Linked DNA regions of Homo sapiens: region 2 is linked to region 1. The links are contacts of gene promoters, found by promoter capture Hi-C in blood cells and fetal thymus (Javierre and others, 2016). All regions are on one chromosome and are shown on one strand. Each heading gives the region's core, a stretch centred on a gene start or on the middle of the fragment in contact. The rest is flanking DNA. Distances are from core to core; before and after follow the strand shown. Region 1 holds the start of SIGLEC10 (sialic acid binding Ig like lectin 10). Region 2 overlaps SIGLEC5 (sialic acid binding Ig like lectin 5).

Evidence for each region. The method cuts DNA at HindIII sites, captures the fragments that hold promoters and counts their contacts. A CHiCAGO score of 5 or more calls a contact.
Region 2: a contact is called between a fragment that was not itself captured here and the fragment with the promoter of SIGLEC10 in region 1, in 3 of 17 cell types (erythroblasts, megakaryocytes and endothelial precursors). The highest score is 8.4, in erythroblasts.

What each region holds. Positions count from the first base shown.
Region 1 is chr19:51,416,279-51,419,816 of GRCh38, forward strand. It overlaps SIGLEC10 (sialic acid binding Ig like lectin 10), which reads right to left and starts at 1,364. Exons shown (of 11, transcript NM_033130.5): 1 at 1,267-1,364; 2 at 804-1,187; 3 at 388-672; 4 at 32-79. The coding sequence starts at 1,303. SIGLEC10-AS1 (SIGLEC10 antisense RNA 1) reads left to right here. Exons shown (of 3, transcript NR_164125.1): 2 at 151-452; 3 at 854-1,919. RefSeq lists enhancers at 1,294-1,463, 1,524-1,593. The HindIII fragment of the contact is 3,908 bases long and covers 1-1,802 here.
Region 2 is chr19:51,613,193-51,616,395 of GRCh38, forward strand. The region is part of intron 8 of SIGLEC5 (sialic acid binding Ig like lectin 5); the gene reads right to left. LOC124904753 (a long non-coding RNA gene) reads left to right here. Exons shown (of 3, transcript XR_007067313.1): 2 at 637-857; 3 at 2,232-2,524. Among named protein-coding and RNA genes, the nearest start is that of SIGLEC5, 16 kb to the right of the region's middle. RefSeq lists a silencer at 2,475-2,624. The HindIII fragment of the contact is 7,305 bases long and covers 1-3,203 here.

The DNA.
Region 1 (3,538 bases), core at 114-2,613:
GGCCCAGCCCCAGCCCGACGGCCCTCAGTACCTGGCGTGTTGTCACGTGAAATGCTGATAACAAGGTCTCTGGGGGCATCTGCAACAAGATTGTGAGCTGGCTTCAGGGAGGGACAATTTATTCCTCACACCTGGAAAAAACTCCCTCAGGGAAAAGAAAGTGGGACTATCCCGGGAAGACAAGTGACAACCAGCGCCAGGGCTCACGTGTGTGGACCAGACGCCATTCCCATCCCCCTCCCAGGGCTGCGGCGGCATCCTGGGACCCCACAGCTTCCTCTCCCTGGATGCTCCTGAGCTGGGAGCCGCTCACTGTCCCACTGGGCTCCTCCACCTCCCCACCCACCGGGGCTGTCTGCACACCCCACCCTCCCAGGCCACACTCACAGGCCACACGGAGTCGGACGGTCCTCTGTGCGCTCACACCCTTTCTGGAGAAGTCCACATGGCAGGTGAGGTCGGTGTTGTGGTCCTGGGGTCTGGGCGTGAAGCTGAGCACTGAGAAGTGGGAGGTCGTTGGTTTGGTTCCTTGGGAGGAGAGGGCAGCCCCCGTCCAGGAGAAAGAAGGGGGTGGACATTCCTCAAAGGCCCAGTTAAACACACAGATGACCGTCACCGGCTGCCCGGGCTCCAGGGTCTCGGGGATGTAGACATCAGGCTTCTGAGTCAGGGCTGGGACAGAGACCGTGGTGGGAGATTCTTGTGCTGCAGGGGTCCCTGAGAGCCCTCTCTGCTCAGCCCATAGGCTGTCCCCAGGGTCCCTCCCCAGTGTGAGAGGCAGGGGTTCCCACCCCATTCCATACCTGTTACTTTTAGAAAGAACCCATCGTTCATGAAATTATATCTCACATAGCTTCCTCTCTCCACCCGAAAGAAGTACTGTGACTCATCCTGCATCTGCGCGTCTCTGATCACCAAGGAGCAGTTCCCCTTGGCGGGATCCCCAGTGAGCTGGAATCGGCCCCGGGTGCTCATTTCCACCTCTCGACTCTGGTGGTTTGTGGCCACAGGAGCACCCTTGGTTGTCTCAGTCACTGCTTTGAACCAGTAGCCATAAGCTGGGGTAGACCCTGTCCAGTCCTGTCGGGGGTAGGAGAAAGAGCAGGGCACAGAGATGCACAGGCCCTCCGGCACCATCACTGACTCCTGCACTCGTATCCAGAATCTCCCATCCATAGCCTGGGACCCTGTGGGGAGACAGAGGCTCAACCTGCAACCCCAGCCCTAGCTCCGCCCCAGGTCCTTTCCGGCCCTTGGCCCACTCACCGCCCAGCAGCGAGGACAGCAGCAGTGGCAGTAGCATCTCCGCATAGGAGGCGCAGGGCCTGCCTGAGACAGGCCTGTTCTCTGGTCGTGCTGTGAGTGGCTCAGGGCTCTTGGCAGAAGGGGAAGCCGAAGGCGGAAGCTGAGCCCTGGGGCCTGATGCATGAAATGAGCTTCAGACGCTGAGCTCACAGAACTCCTTTGCCTTCCCCCACACTCTCCGGCCCACCTTGCCCAGTTGTCCTCTGGGTCTCCTGGGGGCCCAGCCTGGCCTTGGGCTTGTTGAGCTGGTCCTTCCAGAGCTCCCTGTGTAGGAGGAGAGGGCAGGCTTGTGTCTATCCTGGGGGCCTGGCTGGGGGTGGGGTAGTGGGGTGGGGGCTCTCCCTCTGGGCCCTGGGTCATCGGAAAAGCAGAAGTGAGAAGTCCACAGTGAGCTACCCTTATCTGGGCCACTGGTGGTGGAGGTGGTGGGTACAGGGGAAGGGACCGTTACTGGAGGGGGCTGGTCTTGTCAGGTAAAATGCAGGATGCCTGGTTAAAGCTTTCACAGACAATATAAAGTATTTTATTTTATGTTTTTTGGTATAAGTATGTCCGAAATGCTGCATGGGATATACTTATACCAGAAAGCAAAATAAATTTATCTGAAATTCAAATTAATTAATTAATTAATTATATTTTGAGACAGAGTCTCACTCTGTCACCCAGGCTGCAGTGCAGTGGTGCAATCTCTGCTTACTGCAACCTCCACCTCCCAGGCTGAAGTGATTCTCCTGCCTCAGCCTCCTGAGTCTGGGCTTACAGGCACGCGCCACCACGCCAAGCTAATTTTTGTATTTTTAGTAGAGGTGGGGTTTCACCATGTTGGCAGGGCTGGTTTTGAACTCCTGACCTCAAATGATCCACCTGCCTTGACCTCCCAAAGTGCTGAGATTACAGGTGTGAACCACCGCACCTGGCCTAAAATTCAAATTTAACTGAGCATGTTGAATTTCTTTTTTTCTAAATCTGGCCACCGTAGGGTGGTGTCAGCTCCACCTCTTCATGCTTCCTGGTGAGCTCACTGACCCTTGGTCCCCAGAAGCAGTCTCCTGCCCCAACCAGGCCCTAGTCCACTTCCCAGTCTCCCTTCCTCCTCTGTCATTCAATTGGGACACCCATTGGGATTAGAACACATATGTCCAAAGCTAATGCTGATGGGAAGAGTTTGAGGAAGGCGGGAGTGAGGGGCAGAGTGGGGGGAACAGACTAGGGAAGGGGTAATTTGCAATGAATGGAGTAAACTCTACAAGATGTTTTCCCCTCACTGAGCTCTTCCTGAAATGACTCTGTTTGGGTCACACCGAAACACAGAACTCATCCTTCAACCTCCACATACCTTGGGTATCAAGCACTGAGCTTTAGGGGGACTTGGAGGTGAATCCTCCATGGTGAGTCAGCTCCAGGGCCCCAGGTTAGCAAATGAAGATTCTTAGAAACAAAGTACAGAAGGTCCCCTAAATGAACTGGATGCTGGACAGACATTCAGGATGGGACCTGGGGAAGGAGTGGTCAGCTCTTCCTGGTGGAGGGAAGTCAGGAGAGGCCTCCTGGAGGAGATGACCCAGCCTCTGCCCTGTCCTGGTTCTTTCATCCATGGCATTTTTGTTTTTTGTTTTTGAGACAAGGTCTTGCTCTGTTGCCCAGGCTGGAGTGCAGTGGTGTGATCATGGCTCAGTGCAGCCTCCATCTTCTGGGCTCAAGCGATCCTCCCACCTCAGCCTCCCAACTAGCCGGGACTATAGGCACACACCACCACGCCCAGATAATTTTTGATTTTTTTTTTTGATAATTTTTGTAGAGACAGAGGTGTTTGTTTGTTTGTTTGTTTTTGTTTTTTGAGATGGAGTTTCCCTCTTGTTGCCCAGGCTGGAGTGCAGTAGCATGATCTTGGCTCACTGCAACCTCCACCTCCGGGGTTCAAGCGATTCTCCTGCCTCAGCCTCCCAAGTAGCTGGGACTACAGACATGCGCCACCATGCCTGGCTGATTTTGTATTTTTAGAAAAGATGGGGTTTCTTCATGTTGTTCAGGCTGGTCTCGAACTCCTGACCTCAGGTGATCCACCCGCCTCAGCCTCCCAAAGAGCTGGGATTACAGGCGTGAGCCACTGCACCTTGCTGAGACAGAGTTTCACCATGTTGGCCAGGCTGGTCTTGAACTCCTGGGCTCCAGTGATCCTCCCGCCTCGGCCTCCCAAAGTGCTGGGATTACAGGTGTGCTCCACGGCCTCATC
Region 2 (3,203 bases), core at 11-2,510, 200 kb after region 1:
AGAGGGGGTCACAGGCTGGGCACTCAGGCAGCAGGTGGTGTGCCAGGATAAAGGAGTATTCTGTGAAAGTCACACTGTGAACATGATGGCCAGATCTCTGGGGTTCCCATTCAAGGCCGGGCTAGATTTTATGACCACTCCCCAAAGAGAGACCTCAACACCAAATAAGAGAAAAATACAACAAATGGTTCCCACAGGGAAGTTGGGCTGATGTGACATTTATCAATTCATCCTTTTATAATCCACTCCTCCTAAGGACAGGCCATAGGCTGCCTAGGTCAGGGTCTATGTCTGATTTCTCACACTGTACGTGCCCAGGAACCGGCACAGGGCAGACAGGGCTGGGTTCAAATCCCGGCCCCACCTGTCCATATACATTTCCTGTGAACTCAACTATTCGCTCATTCTTTCAAAATTTTGTAATACTATGATTGATCAGACCATATTGAGGACTTACTAATCACATTGAATCATCACCAAAAAAAAACCCACAACAGTATAAAAGATATTCTAATTATCCCCACCTTACACACAGGGAAACTGAGGTGGAGAGAGGTTAAGTAGCTTGCCCAGGGTTATTCATCTAATACATGGCGAGGCCAGGATTCGAACTCAGCCCTGTCTCCCCTGTTTCAGGTTCTGGGCACGTACAGTGTGAGAAATCAGACATAGACCCTGACCTAGGCAGGAGGAGCGGATTATTGATGAAGCAAATGTATACCTTCGGCATAGGTTACAAGGTGTCTTATGTGCAAACCAGAAAAGAGATGGCAATTCTGATCCTGGACCCAGTTTCCATGAAAGAGAAACAAAATGGAGCAGATCCTGTCCCCAGCAAAGATGGTAACCAGATACAAGTAAGCAATTTCTTTCCTCTCCCACCTTCACCCATATCCCTACCCATCACGCTATGGAAAATATGTTGAAAGCAACGTGAGTCTTCAAACAGTAGCTCAGAAGTTTTCTTTTTGAGACAGAGTTTCACTCTGTCATCCAGGCTGGAGGGCAGTGGTGTGATTTCGTCTCACTGCAACCTCCCGTCCCTGGCTCAAGCAATCCTCCCACCTCAGCTTCCTGAGTAGCTGAGACCACAGGCACAAGCCACCATGCCCAGCTAATTTTTGTAAAGACAGGGTTTCGCCACGTTACCCAGGTTGGTCTCAAACTCCTGGGCTAAGCGACTGGCCCAGCTTAGCCTTCCAGAGTGGTGGGATTACAGGTGTGAGCCACCACACCTGGCCATACAGTTTTTTTAAAAGGACTCCGCAGTTAGGGAAAAATGGCTTCATTGTGTCAGAAAAAAATAGACTTTCTGGAGAGAGCTGCTTATATTAGGCACAAGAAAGATGAAATAAAATGAAAAAGTGGCTATGCACACCAGCATTATGCAGGCAAAGGAAGAAATAAAGACATATGTCTATCAATAGGTGTGCGGTATATGAAATAAAAAGGGTGAAATTGACAACTGAAAGAAAAGGCACAGCTCAGATTAGTAAATAGGACAATGCAGTATGTTCACCCTTTCACTCAATAGCTCTTTGCTGAGTGCTTTCTTTGGGCTAGATGCCGTTCGTATAAATGAGGACATAAAGCAGACTGAAACCACCCAAATACCTCCCCGTCATGCAGTTCCTTGTTAGACAGAAGGAAAAGTAATACTGGGTAACAGTTATAAGTGAGCTCCCTGTGAGCTTGCCACTTTACTAAGCACTCCTTGTAACAATCCGAGACAGATACTAGCATATTAATAACCCAATTTCTATAGGAGAAAACAAAAAAACAGAGAGGTTCATTAGCTTATCCAAGGTCACACAGCTTGCAAGTGGGTGAATCTAGAACCTGAATGCAGGACGTCAAACTCCAGGGACCATGCTGTGCCTCGCTTTACCATTCTGCCTATGGCATGAAAGTGTGCAGAATGGTTAAAGGTAAAATAAAGGAGAAAACAAAGCTCTCTCTACCATAGTTCTTGTCAAAAGAGTGAATTCATACACCGGCTCTGTTCTCCAAGACCTACCAATGATGGAACTAAAGATGGAGCTCCTGGGTGAACAAAACTTTACAAATCAATTTATGATCAATCAATCACACTGATATCCCTAGGGGAAAGTTAAGGCTCATTTGAAGAAAAGGGGTGGGAGAACTGGGCGGGGGGACAGCTGGCTTGTTGAGAGGATGGGTTAGCCCAAACATACTTGAATTCTGCTCCTTTCTCTCCTCTACCCTTCCAGTGGGACAAACATTGTCTGCCCCTCACTGCAGAATTCAGAGTATGGACAGGATTATGATGTGCCAGTGTCCAACAGGCATGTGTTGGGTAAGCACCAGAGGCCCACTGGGGTGAGGAGAAGGAGAACGGAGGTGGAAGCTCACTGGTCTTTGACATTCTCCTTGCCATTTTCTCCACTCCAAACTCCCAGGGCTGGTGGATCACAATGCAACGAGAGTCCTTGACCAATGTTGCTTCTCCACGAGGGTCTGAAGATGGAGGGATGACTTAAGCTGCCTTACTGGGGTGATAGGAAGTGGGACTGGTTGGGTGTGGTTTGGGTTCTTGAGGGGATCCACCCTGGGGCTTGTCCCAGTCATTTCTCTTTTTTTGAGACGATGCTTCACTGTTGTTGCCCAGGCTGGAGTGCAATGGCATGATCTCGGCTCACTGCAACCTCCACCTCCCAGGTTCAAGAGATTCCCCTGCCTCAGCCTCCCGAGTAGCTGGGATTACAGGCATGTGCCACCACACCTGGCTAATTTTGTATTTTTAGTAGAGACGGAGTTTCTCCATGTTGGTTGGGCTGGCCTCAAACTCCCGACCTCAGGTGATCTGCCCACCTCGGCCTCCCAAAGTGCTGGGATTATAGGCGTGAGCCACCGTGCCCGGCGTCCCTGTCATTTCTTTGGCTCAGTAAGCCTGACACAGGCCAGCATCTGCCCTTCCCTCATTCAAGAAACACTGCCAGAGTAGCCAATAACCCCAGGGGAATGTGAGCTCACAGCTCAGAAGGCTGGGCACCTTTGAAGAAAAGCAAACCAACAGAACCTGATAGACCACTAGAAGCACAAGTACTAGGACGCTTTGGTCAAGAAGCTAAACTGAGCATATTACATGCACTAAAAAGATGTGGCAATATTAGCAGCATGAAAACAAGCATAAGAAACTTTGTCAATAACAAAGTGTGCATGCAAAATGAATGTGAAACATA